Regions from separate parts of the Homo sapiens genome. Here region 1 is linked to region 2. Evidence: promoter capture Hi-C in 16 types of primary human blood cells and fetal thymus (Javierre and others, 2016). All regions are on one chromosome and are shown on one strand. Each heading gives the region's core, a stretch centred on a gene start or on the middle of the fragment in contact. The rest is flanking DNA. Distances are from core to core; before and after follow the strand shown. Region 1 has its middle 30 kb from the start of C16orf54. Region 2 holds the start of MAZ (MYC associated zinc finger protein).

Region 1 (6,768 bases), core at 1,046-3,545, 89 kb after region 2:
TCTCAAAAAAAAAAAGTTGCTTTCACTTTGTAGGATGCATGATGGATATATAGAATATATATATAAGTAATAAAGCTTCTATGAGTGGAGGAACACCAGGGCTCCTGTTCCGTGGGAATTGGATAAAGCCACATGGACACACATGGAGTGGTTTTAAGGAGTGGAGAGTTTAATAGGCAAGAAAAAAGGGAGCAGAAAGAAGGAAGAAGCTCCCCTGTACAGAGACAGAGGGAGAGGGGCTCCAAAGCCAACAGAGGAGACCACAAGTGCGGGGGATACCAGCCAGTTATGAGTAGGCTGGAGGAGGCGGTGTCTGATTTGCATAGGGCTCAGGGAACTGGTTTGACCAGGCATTTTATTCGTGTAGCCTTTGAAAAAACTGGCCCTCCCACCCTAGCCTTTTAATATGCAAATGCAGGGTGCAATGATGTTTTACACAGGTGGGGATATGTGGGGGCAGCCACGTTGCCAGGCACATGTGGGGGCATGTCCTTGGGTTGTTCAGTTTGCACCATTTGGAGTTAGATGGCTTCTAAGCAAGAGGAAACAATTTGAGTTACAGTATTGAGTATACAGGGTCCAAATATTTATACAAGACATATAAACAAGACAGGGCTTAATAAAGGGGTTAACCAATTCCATAAAGAAGACAGGAATTCATTAAAGAGGGATTGTAGCCACCCGGGGCTGAAGCCGGCATTTTCTCTGAGCCTGTCAATGATTTTGATTTCATCTTTAAGTACCTGTAGATTTTCCTCTACTTTAGTAGAGGTTTTAATCCAGAAGCAGCATGTTTCATTTAAAAGTGCATCACTAAACCCAGTAAAAAGTCCTGGCAGATTCGGTGATAGTAACTTTTATGCTTCCTTTTCGTTAGTAACTACTATCCCTGCTATAAGGATAATAAGCAGAATACTACGGCAATGGAAACTCTGTCCAATATTTCAGCTTTAAGGTGCTACCGTGTATAACCCTATTGAAAATAGTGGGGTGAGTACAGCAATTCCCACAAGTGTGGTGTAGTAGATAATTTCCACTTAAAATTTTACTTGCCAAGATATAGAATTTCCCTTTGGGGGTTTATGAAGTTCTTTTGTTTTATTTTCCCAAACAAAGAAATCTCCAAGCTATGGGCACCCTACTCACTTTTTTTTTTTTTTGAGACGGAGTCTTGCTCTTTCGCCCAGGCTGGAGTGCCGTGGCGCGATCTCAGCTCACTGCAAGCTCCACCTCCTGGGTTCACGCCATTCTCCTGCCTCAGCCTCCCAAGTAGCTGGGACTACAGGTGCCCGCCACCACGCCCAGCTAATTTTTTTGTATTTTTAGTAGAGACAGGGTTTCACCATGTTAGCCAGGATGGTCTCGATCTCCTGACCTCGTGATCCACCCGCCTTGGCCTCCCAAAGTGCTGGGATTACAGGCGTGAGCCACCGCGCCCTGCTTTTCTTTTTTTTTTTTTTTAAAGACGGAGTCTCGCCTTCTCACCCAGGCTGGAGGGCAATAGCGCGATCTCGGCTCACTGCAACCTCCACCTCCTGTGTTTAAGCTATCCTCCTGCCTCAGCCTTCCTAGTAGCTGGGATTATAGGCACACACCACCATGCCCAGATAATTTTTTTGTATGTTTAGTAGAGATGGGGTTTCACCATGTTGCCCAGGCTGGTCTGAAACTCCTACCTCAGGTCATCCACCCACCTCGGCCTCCCAAAGTGCTGGGATTACAGGGGTGAGCCACCGCGCCTGGCCCCTACTCACTTTTATTACCTGGCAGAATTTATAGGATAATTGCCCAGAACCAGTATATTGATTCAGATTTTTACATTCTCCATTCCTTTTTTTTTCTTCCAAGCTGCAGATCACCACTTGATTTACAGGAATAAACAGGGTTAGTCTAAAATGTAGGCAAAAAGCTTAAAAACAATTAATGAGACTAGGATTTAATGACAAATGTATGATAAGCTTTGGGACACAATTTCTCCAGGTCTCATTTTTGGTAAAAACAAATTATGATAGGACCATGTGTGTTGTTTGTAGAATAAACTTTAGTTTTATACTTGGCCTGATGATTTGCCCAGGCTGGAGTGCAACAGGGCAATCTTGGCTCACCGCAACCTCTGCCTCCCAGGTTCAAGCTGTTCTCTTGCCTCAGCCTCCCGAGTAGCTGGGGTCACAGACATGCACTGCCACGCTCAGCTAATTTTGTATTTTTAGAAGAGTCCAGGATTTCTCCATATTGGTCAGGCTGGTCTCGAACTCCCAACCTCAGGTGATCCACCTGCCCAGCTTGGCTTCCCAAAGTGCTGCGATTACAGGCATGAGCCACCGTGCCCGGCCAGGAATGGTTATTTCTACACAGGCCTTTTGAATTGGCTTTGATGAAACTTTGTTGCACAAGGAATTTCAGATAAGACCTTTAAAGCCGAGCCCAACTATGGGTTTGTATCCTCAAATACCTGTGAGTTGGGTGATCCTCTCCTCTTAAGGTTCCAAGATAAACTTGGAGCTCCCAGGCCTGTTAGAAAGTGACACTCTTTACTGACCATAGGTTAGGAACCCTGTGTGGGGACTGTGTAGACTAACTATGAGGCCAGTTCTCTCCAAGGGGTTTTTATTGGGTCTGCATGTCAAGCTTGATTCCTTAAAGGGAAACACACCCTTTCAGTGAAACCTTGGTAAAATAACCAGTTTTTCCAACTGTGTCCTGTTGACAAAGAAAATTGACTCTTTTTTTTTTTTTTTTGAGACGGAGTCTTGCTCTGTTGCCTAGGCTGGAGTGCAGTGGCACGATCTCGGCTCACTGCAAGCTCCGCCTCCCGGGTTCACGCCATTCTCCTGCCTCAGCCTCCTGAGTAGCTGGGACTACAGGCACCGCCACCACACCTGGCTAATTTTTTTGTATTTTTAGTAGAGACGGGGTTTCACCGTGTTAACCAGGATGGTCTCGATCTCCTGACCTTGTGATCTGCCCACCTCGGCCTCCCAAAGTGCTAGGATTACAGGCGTGAGCCACGGCACCCGGCCAGAAAATTGACTCTTATTGCACTGATGCAAACAACCTTACTGCCATAAGTTAAGAGTACTCACAGATAGTCTCCACGTTCTAGAGGAACCAGGCAGAGAAAAACAAACATGCTCCAAATTTTGTTCACAGGCATATACCTTACGCAATTATTTATTTTATTTTATTTTGAGACAGAGTTTCGCTCTTGTTGCCAGGCTGGAGTGCAATGGTGTGATCTTGGCTCTGCAACCTCCACCTCCTGGGTTCAAGCAATTCTCCTGCCTTAGCTTCCCGAGTATCTGGGATTACAGGCATGCACCACCACACCCAGCTAATTTTGTATTTTTAGTAGAGATGGGGTTTCTCCAAGTTGGTCAGGCTGGTCTTAAACTCCCAACCTCAGGTGATCCACCCTCCTTAGCCTCCTAAAGTACTGGGTTTGCAGGCATGAGCCACGGTGCCCGGCACCTTACTTAATTATTAAAGGCTGTAAATAGTTCAAAATAAGTTTTCTTGACTCTGAAAGACAAAACAAGGATCCTTAAGTTATCTTAGGGACTCTCATGCGTATTTGCAATATTCCAAGCAAAAGTTAAAAAGGTTGCTTTGGCCAGGTGCGGCAGCTCACACCTGTAATCCCAGCACTTTGGGAGGCTGAGGCGTGTGGATCATGAGGTCAGGAGTTTGAGACCCTGTCTCTACTAAAAATACAAAAATTTGTCAAGCGCAGTGGTGGGCGCCTGTAATCCCAGGCTGAGGCAGGAGAATCCCTTGAACCAGGGAGGCGGAGGTTGCAGTGAGCCAAGATTGCACCATTGCACTCCAGCCTGGGTGACAGAGTGAGACTCTATCACAAAAAAAAAAAAAAAAGCTGCTTTAACTTTTTGAGTGCAGTCCATTTAGTTAACTTTTGTTTTGCTTGATATTTGTGAATATGTCCATTCTTTATGAGTCCTGTACTTTTTTATTCCAATGTTACAATCTTCAAAGCTATTAAAAACCTGCATTTGAGAACACCTGTTAAAGTCCTTAATATAGCTTGATTATAAACCATTTTCTGAGAAGGAACGAAGCAAGACAACAATTGTTTGCGAATGACAAAATTTCCAGGACAGTTACAGTTAAATCTTTACAAATCTTTTATAACCTTTTTACCAAAGGACAGATTAGTGTTTTAGGAACTCCTTGCTATGCTTTTATTTCAATGCTCAATTTATGAAAAGACCATATAGATACTATGAGAGAAGACAGTGTAGTGTTTCTACCATGCATTTCATTGCAAGGCAACCCAAAGCCAATTGGCTTATTTTGGCAATTAGCCCATTCTGCATGGTAGTCTCATCTCTTTGTGGGGGGTGGGGATGTTTTTTAGGTGCCCAAGAGCATGCTTTTTTGATTTATAACTACTATTAGGCATCCTTTACAGTGTATTTTCTACCTAGTTATTACACATCAAAGCTCTTTTATAATGTGAAGTAATTTGATACCCCCAAAACTCAAAACGGTAGATAACACAATACATAACAGAACAGAGCCTTTGGTTTTGAGAGGGAACTATCAGCTTTTAATTTTGGGGGTTTCATGAGGAAAACAGGTTTTTTTTCCAAAACAGGGTTTGTGGCACCTCCTCTGTTTTTCCCAAGGAGTTCCATGCTGTCAGAAGTTGTCTTAGGGACTCTCATGCATGCATTAAGAGTGGTTAAGACAAAAATGGAGAAAAATAATTCAGTTGACTGAGAAGAGCCTTTTTCCAGAAAACAAGATTCAAGAAGAGAAAAACATAAAGGCCTTTTAAGTATACCTATAACTTGAATATCCACTTTTAATTAAGCTGAGTGCTCTAAGAAAAGCCTTCAAAATCCCTTGTTACTTGACTTTAGCCATGCCAAGCAGTTAAGATTTTTGGCTTTTGAGTTTTACAAAAAGTAACCTCACAGGTGAACCCAATGAGCCTTAATTAGGTTATGACTTATCCACAAGTGTACAAGGTATTTTCAAAGGAGTAATAGGCAGCTTTTGAAACTGTCATTGCAAAACTGAGACTGAGACAGTGAAAGAGAAGAGATCCGACCCAAACAACTCCATTTTGTTTCCAGCCCCCAAGCTGTCCTTGCCCATCCCTGGGTGTAGGCTGGACCAACTTTGGGAGGGGCGAGTTTACAGTTATTAAACTATAGACAGTTTATAGTTATTAAACTATAGATAGTTTAAAACTACAGTTATTAAACTATAGTTTATAGTTATTAAACTATAGATAGTTTATAGTTATTAAACTATAGATAGTTTATAGTTATTAAACTATAGATAGTTTATAGTTATTAAACTATAGTTTATAGTTATTAAACTAGTTTATAGTTATTAAACTATAGTTTATAGTTATTAAACTATAGTTTATAGTTATTAAGCTATAGTTTATAGTTATTAAACTATAGATAGTTTATAGTTATTAAACTATAGATAGTTTAAAACAAAGATGATATCAGCCCCTTCTTAAGATATACTTCCCTCTTGTCTGGGGACCAGACCAAGAAACTAGCCATAAGATTAAAAACCAGGCTGGGCGTGGTGGCTCACGCCTGTAATCCCAGCACTTTGGGAGGCCAAGGTGGGCGAATCACGAGGTCAGGAGTTCGAAACCAGCCTGGTCAACATAGTGAAACCCTGTCTTTACTGAAAATACAAAAGTTAGCCAGGTGTAGTGGTACACGCCTGTAATCCCAGCTACTTGTGAGGCTGAGGCAAAGAGAATCACTTGAACCTGGGAGGTGGAGGTTGCAGCAAGCTGAGATTGCGCCACTGCACTCCACCCTGGGCAACAGTGCAAGACTCCATCTCAAAAAAAAAATATATATATATATATATTTATATATTTTATATAATTATATATATTTATATATTTTATATAATTATATATAATTATATATATTTATATATTTTATATAATTATATATTTATATATTTTATATAATTATATATTTATATATTTTATATAATTATATATTTATATATTTTATATAATTATATATTTATATATTTTATATAATTATATATATTTATATATTTTATATAATTATATATAATTATATATTTTATATAATTATATATAATTATATATTTTATATAATTATATATAATTATATATTTTATATAATTATATATATTTATATATTTTATATAATTATATATAATTATATATTTTATATAATTATATATTAAATATATTAACTATATAATTATATATATTAATATATTTTATATAATTATATATTAAATATATTAACATATATAATTATATATTATATATTTTATATAATTATATATTAAATATATTAACATATATAATTATATATATTATATATTAATATATATAATATAAAATTATGTATATATATAATATAAAATTATATATATATATTGGAAACTATGGCTTAGGAGCTATGCATCTGGAGGCTACAAGATTTTGACACTCCCTAAACTACTCTTAAAATGAGTGTTTAAGATATTTTGTAAACCCTGCCCTTGATGGATCAGCTGGCACCACCCAGATTGACAAACCGACTTAATCTGATTTTGTGGCCCTCACCCAGAAACTGACTTAGCACCAGAAGACAGCCACCATTATGAAATGGTGGAGACTCAAACAAAGTATTGCCACGTGGTTACAGGTCATGTTTCCAAGGACATGAAACAAGATGAAGGCTTATAGCCAATTTTGTTAGTGACGATTTTGTTGGGCTCGCTCAAACACCAGGCTTATGGGGTCCTAGG
Region 2 (6,342 bases), core at 2,490-4,989:
TCCATTCTCCCCTCTCCCCCGCAACCAACTTGGAGCTCACCAGGGTTGGGAGGGAAGTGGCTGAGAGCTCACAGGCACCCCCTCCGCCCCCGAGAGGGAGCCCACAGCTGTGGGAGGGGCTGCTACTGCTGCCGCTGCTGCCGCTGCCGCCGCTGCCGCTGCCGCCGCCATTGGACAAACCTCACCAGTACCTGCACAGGAGAAACACCACGGATCACAGCGCGATCTGAATGGCAAGAGCCTTGCCCTCACCCCACACCTTCCCAGCCTGCTTCCCCTGGGACACAGCCGTTGCTCACTTCCTATCTGGACCCCAGAGGCCTCAGCCTGCATCCTCACCCAGACAGAGCAGTTCTCAAGGATCCTCCCTGTGCCCAGAAGTCTCCCTAGCCTGAGTGGTACATGGGCATCCCTCGCCTTCCTGAGATCCCCTATTGGGCCCTTTGAGCCCCGTTGTCCCCCACACCCCCCATCCCGCCCCCCAGCCATGCCCCACGCCTTGCCTGGTGGGTGCGGGGGTCCCCCTCAGCAGGTGGGCTGTGGCTGGGGGGCGTCTCCCGGGACAGGGGGGGCGGCCCCCCCCAGATGGGTCTGCATGTGGCCGGCCAGCTGGGCAGGGGTCTTGCAGTGCACGCTGCACAGCTTGCACAGGATGCGGTCAGCCCGCGGGGCCTGGAGCCCGTGGTCCTTCACCGCGTGGATGCGCAGGTATGCTGCCGTGGTGAAGCCTATTGGGGGGTGGATTGGGATGGGGCGGGGGTCAGCCAGGCGGAGACCCCAGAGACGGGGCTGATCTCCTAGGCGGGGGATGCCCTCCTCAGATGGCCCTGTCCTCCTCCCACGGTATCCTTGGTAGCCTGGGGCCAACTGCTCTGTTGGGGCTGGTAGACACAGCCCCTCCCTGAGCCTGGGGCCTGGCTTGTGTGGTGCCCGCTTCTCAGCCTTGGTACCTACAGAACTCATTCTCCATGGCCGGGAGACCTCTCCCAGGATGACGAGACACTGACTCCTAGCCACTTGCAGGGTTGACCCTCAGCAGAGACGGCTGTGTCCCCTTCCCTCCAGTGCCCCGCGGTCTCAACCCAGTTAACCGGTGAGTCTGACTGAAGGCAGCTTTCTCTGCTACCCGTGCAGGGTGCGTGCTGGTAAAGCCCGGCCCGTGTACTCCACCTGCCCCAGGAGCTGGAGACAAGACCTTGTGGCTGCGCAGCGGAAACCTTGCCTTGTGACCCCTGGAACTGGCTTTCTTGACTACTCCTTCCCCAGAGCAGCCAAGTTCCACTCCCGCTTTCCCCACACATTACCAGGAGGTTCAACCTCTCTGGCAGATCATCTCTTCCAACCAGGACTTCTTAGAGTCTAATGATGTTCATTCAGGTGTCCCCCCGCTGCTCCCTTGACCTCTTGTAGGAATCTAGACGCCACGAGCTCTTGGCTACAGCACCCTTAACCCGTATCCGTGGCAAGGCGTCTGGCCAGGCGCCCACCCTCTGCCCCTGGCCCTCCCGGCAGCCCTCGGCATGTACCTTTGTTGCAGAGCTCACAGACATGGTGAGGACCCTGGCTGTGCACCTTCATGTGGTCCGAAATATAAGCCGAGCTCAGCATCTTGCCACACACGTGACATGGCACTTTCTCCTCGTGTCGTACTGTGTGCGCCCGCAGCCGATCCTTCGTGGCGAAAGCTGCCTCACATTTCTGAGGAGGGGGGAGGGGCGTGGGGGGTGTCACAGGAGAGTTAAAGCTTGGTGGGCTGGGGAGGGGGGAGCAAGAGATTAAAGGAATCAGAGCCTTGGGGATCTTTGATCTGTAGGAAATGGGAGTGACATGATGAGGCCTTGAAGAAGGGATGAGAAAATGGAGCAAAAAGGCAAAAAGAAGAGAGAGAAAAAGGGGGTCTGAGAGACTGACTCAGACAGCTACCATGAGGATCAAAATCATGAAAACCAAGACAGGAGGAGGCGGGCTTCCTACCTCACATTTGAAGGGCCGTTCTGTTGAGTGCACTTGTCTGACGTGACTGTTGAGGTGATCCGGCCTGGGGACACGTTGGGGTTGGGGTTAGGGCGGAGGTGGTGCGCCCCAAATCCACCAAACCGCACCACAGGCCTTTCCGAGGATCCCTGCGCCTCCTCCCGGAGCCCAGGCCGTCACAGCGACACTTAAGCAGGAAATCCCTCCCCTGGAGCCCAGCAGCCGCTGCCGCCGCCGCCGCCTCCTCCCACGCGAAGCTTCCGTCAACCCCAAGGCCCACCTCCTCGACAAAGGACCACCCCTTGCTCCCTGGTAACCGGGAGAGGCTTCCTCCCTCCGCCCTGGGAGTGGCTCCCCTTCCCCAGCCTCAGCAGCCGCCTCCCTCCCCGCCAGCCACGGCCAGGCCACCTCCGTCGCGTCCCTCCCTCCCCACGGCCTAGCGGGCGGCCGAGGCCCCGTGCACACCGGGAGAAGCTCTTGCCACAGTGGGAGCAGTTGTAGGGCTTGTGCACAGCGCCGTCATGTGAGCGCACGTGGTAGCTCATGCGGTCCTTGCGCTTGAAGCGCTGCTGGCACACCGGGCACTGGTAGGGCTTCTCGTCCGAGTGCGACAGCTTGTGTCGGTTCAGGTGGTAGACGTCGCGGAAGGCCTTGCCACACATCTCGCAGGCATGGTTCTTCCGGATGCGCTTCCCCGAGGCGGTCGTGGTCACCACGCCACCGGCGGCCACTGCGGCAGCGCCGCCGCCGGCACCCGCCTCTCCCCCTCCCCCGCCGGCTCCGCTCAGCTGGGGCACGCTCAGGAGGCTCAGGGGCACCATGGTCGGCATCTTCATAGCACCCGAGGGGACCCGGCCGGCCTTGGCTCCCGTGTGGATGGCTTCGTGCCTCCGGAGATTGTAGCCGTTCTTGAACTCCTTGGCGCACAGAGCGCAGATGTAGGGCCCCTTGCTCTTTGTCTTCTTCTCCAAGGCAGACGCGACCGGGGCCACGGCGACCGTCGAGGTTGGGGCTACGACGGCGGTGGCCGCCGCCGCGGCGATAGTGGCGGCGGAGGCGGGGGGCGCGGCCTCGGCCGCGGGCGCCGACACTGGCGGGGGTGGCGGAGGGGGCGCCGGAGGCTGCTTCAGGGCCGCTGTGTCCACCGTAGAGGCGGCGGCAGGGGCCGGGGGCGCGGCAGCGACGGCGGCAGCAGCGGCGGCAGCGGCCGCAGCAGCCGCGGCGGACTCCTGGGCGGCGGCGAGCACCGGGAGCAAGTCCACCTGGAGGGGCTCGGCCGCCGGGGCCTGGGGCGTGGGCGGGGGCGCCGGCGCGGCCTGCGGAGACAAGGCGCCGAGTGGGCCGCGGGTGCGGGCGGGCGTCCCCCCCCAGCCCGGGCCGCCGCGGCCGGCCCTACTCACCTGGAATGGACTCTGGGCGCAGCCCTGGGAGGCAAAGAAGCGGGACTGGAGCTCAGCCCCGACCTGCAGGGGGTTCTGGGCGTGACCCTGAGGTGGCGGGAAGGAGTTCATGAGGCCGCCCACCCCCCGGGAGTCCAGGCCCAGCACGGGGAAGGGGGGGGCCAGCAGCGTGCAAGGAAACACCGGGAACATGGCCTCGGCCGCAGCGGGGCCCCCGGGGCTCAGCGGGGGCCGGGGGCGCGGGCCGCGCGGGGCCCGGGCTCGGGGCGCCGCCCCCGGCCGGCCGGGCTGGGCCGCGCCGAACGCATGGCCCGCGGGCCGCCCCGCCGCCCGCGCACCCCGGCCGGCGGGAGGGAGGAAAAGAGGGCGCCTTGCGGGCCGCGGAGCGCCGCGGCGACGGCGGCGGCGACGCCCCCTGGGTGGGGGCGGGAGGCCCCGCGGGGCCGGGGCCGGGGGCGGGGGCCCGGGCGGCGGCGGCGGCGGCGGCGGCGGTTGGAGCCTGGCGGGGCGGGGTGGGGGGAGCGAGGGAGCAGCCTCGGCCCCCGCCGCGCGCGCGCCCAGCCGGCGCCTCGGGGAGGGCGGGGGAGGGCGCGAGGGAGGGAGGGGGACAGCTGCGCGCGCACCGGGCGCGCGGAGGGGGGGTGGGACGGGAGGGAGGGCGGGCAGGAGGGGGTGTGGGCAGGGGGGTGGGGGCGGGGGGAGGGAGTTGTTACCTGGAAGATGAAGCTGCTCCAGTTGCTGGGATCCATGGCGGAGGGAGGGAGGGAGGTGGCTCGCGCTCACCCTGGGGCGGGAGGAGGAGGCGGCGGCGGTGGGGGAGGGGGAACCCGGGAGGAGGCGCGCGGGGCGGGCAGGAGGGGGGAGGTGGAGGGTGGGGGAAGCGGAGCACACTACGCGCGGGGAGGGCGGGCGGGGGGCGCGAGGACACACAAGAGGCTGGAGCGGGCGCGAGCGCTAGCGCGAGCGCGCGCGTGGCCAGCGGGAGGGGCAGGCGCGAGAGGGACTCTGGCGGGAGGAGGGACGGGGGAGCCACCCAGCAGCCCGAGTCGCCCCGAGCGCGAGACCCCTGAGACGGCTGCTGATTGGCTGACGATGGCGCAGGTGGTGGGCGCGCGGGAGACAGGGCGGCTTCTCTCCTCTTCCCCCCGCCAACGATTCCACTCCCCCTCCCTCCGCCAGCGGCCGTTATTTCGCGCGCACGCGCACAAGGCCGCCGTCGTTGCCGAGCGGGAGAATGGGGGAGCGCGCGCGCCGGGGGCACGGACGGGGCGGGGCTAATCCCTGAGCGCGCGCCCGCCTAACGGTCGCAGGCCTCATGCTTCGGCTTCCGCTTTTTGCGTCCTGCAGGCCACCGTCCTCCCCGCCCCACCCCAGCGGTGTATTTACAATCCTGCGCTGAGTCGTTCCCCGAAGATGGCGCCCAGTGGAGTCGCCTGCCTTGCTCGCGGCCCACCCCGAGGCGGTCACACCCCGGTCCCGCCCCCGCAGCCCCAAAAATCAGGCGGAAGCACCGGAGCAAAAACTGTATTTACACAACACGGGGTTATACAAAAATTTGAAAAGGCGGAGTGAGGAGACGACGGTCAGGAGGCGCCACAGCGCTGGCCGGCGGCGAGACCCAGGATGTTTGCCTGCAACACAGGAGGGAGGGAGACAGCGACGTTAGAGAGGGGCGCGGGGCGCAGGACAGGCAGAGGAGGGGCAGGGCCGTGACTTCACCTTCAGGAAGGACTCCATCTGTTTCCCCGTTATGCCCTCCACGCGTTCCAGGTCCTCCACCTGGCGGGACAGGATCGATAGGGGACAGGGTCTCGGGGGTACCCGGTCTCCCCCGCCCCCGCCCTCCCCCAGTCCAGTGGGCTGCTACCTGGCTGAAGGGGCCGTGGAGCTCCCGCCAGCCCACGATTAGCTGGGCCTTCTTCGGGCCAATGCGCTGAAGACTGCGGAGATCTCGGGCTGAGCCTTCGTTCAGCAGATCCAGTATTTTTTGGCGCCCATGAGCCAGTAGCTCCGGGCTGATCTGTAGCTCCCAGCAGTCCTCAGCCTTCTCCTCAGGCTCTAGGGCATCCAGGGACTCCAGCTGGGAGGCAAAGGGAGATGAGTGACACGCAGGGCAGCCAAGTGCTTTGGGCTCCTCTGCCAAGACTAGGAGCCCAGCACCAGCTACCTCCTGCGCTCCAGCCTCTTCCTCTCTTGTCAAGTGTGTCCAAAATCCCGCCCTCAGGTCACTCTCTGGGTTAATTCTTATTATGCAACTAGTGAAAGAGAGGTACTACTCAGTACCCAGTGGTAATATTAGCACCCTTCTCATGGAGTTGCTGTGGAGATCAAGTGAGTTAATGAATGTAAAGCACAAAATAAGCTCTTAAATCTGGTCCCTCATCTCTAAAAGGGAAAGAATAAGCTGTCTTTCAAAAAGTACATGGGAGAAAGTAATATGAATAAATGATACCTCCCCCAACCATCTCAGTTTTTGGGTAGTTCTAGTGGTGTTCGATTCTGGGTATGTGCATATGTGTGGTTTCTTGCTTGACTGCTTAGGTCATAGTTCCCTAAGTTTTCCCTCTTAAGCTTGTAGAGGGTAGAAGCCAGGCTACACAGTGGAACATCCGCTCTGCGAGGTACATCCACATCACTGCCTTCCACCCTAAATGCCCTGCAAGGAACCATCCATCACCACATTCCAGGGGTAAGCAAGTTGAGGTCTGTTAGTAGCTGGCGGCCATCATCCAGTTCGTTTAACCCCAAGGCCAACGCTCCTCCCCCTAGAGCCTACTCCCCCTTACTTCTGGGCTCCAGGTGTAGCCTAAGCCCCCAGCTACTTTCACCTTTCTCTTCCGGCCTTTATTCTTCAGGATGTGGATCTCGGCATTTGGGGATGCTGCCTGCTCCTGAACTGAAAGTAGGAATCGAGAATTGGAGTCAGGGCAAAGGGTACTTTTCACCCTCCCTGGTAGCCCTTCGATTC

What was found. The method cuts DNA at HindIII sites, captures the fragments that hold promoters and counts their contacts. A CHiCAGO score of 5 or more calls a contact.
Region 1: a fragment that was not itself captured here is called in contact with the fragment with the promoter of MAZ in region 2 in 2 of 17 cell types (total CD8 T cells and M0 macrophages); the score reaches 5.9 in total CD8 T cells.

Annotation. Positions count from the first base shown.
Region 1 is chr16:29,712,861-29,719,628 of GRCh38, reverse strand. No RefSeq gene overlaps it. Among named protein-coding and RNA genes, the nearest start is that of C16orf54, 30 kb to the left of the region's middle. The HindIII fragment of the contact is 670 bases long and covers 1,961-2,630 here.
Region 2 is chr16:29,803,926-29,810,267 of GRCh38, reverse strand. MAZ (MYC associated zinc finger protein) reads right to left here and starts at 3,739. Exons shown (of 5, transcript NM_002383.4): 1 at 3,375-3,739; 2 at 2,440-3,290; 3 at 1,975-2,038; 4 at 1,527-1,698; 5 at 1-191. The coding sequence starts at 3,566. The coding sequence ends at 37. KIF22 (kinesin family member 22) reads right to left here. Exons shown (of 14, transcript NM_007317.3): 11 at 6,203-6,270; 12 at 5,242-5,454; 13 at 5,094-5,153; 14 at 4,884-5,005. The coding sequence ends at 4,958. MVP-DT (MVP divergent transcript) reads left to right here. Exons shown (of 4, transcript NR_186424.1): 3 at 95-233; 4 at 1,135-1,624. RefSeq lists enhancers at 1,949-2,188, 4,759-4,808 and silencers at 2,269-2,938, 3,839-3,978, 4,109-4,448, 5,189-5,238. The HindIII fragment of the contact is 3,714 bases long and covers 2,234-5,947 here.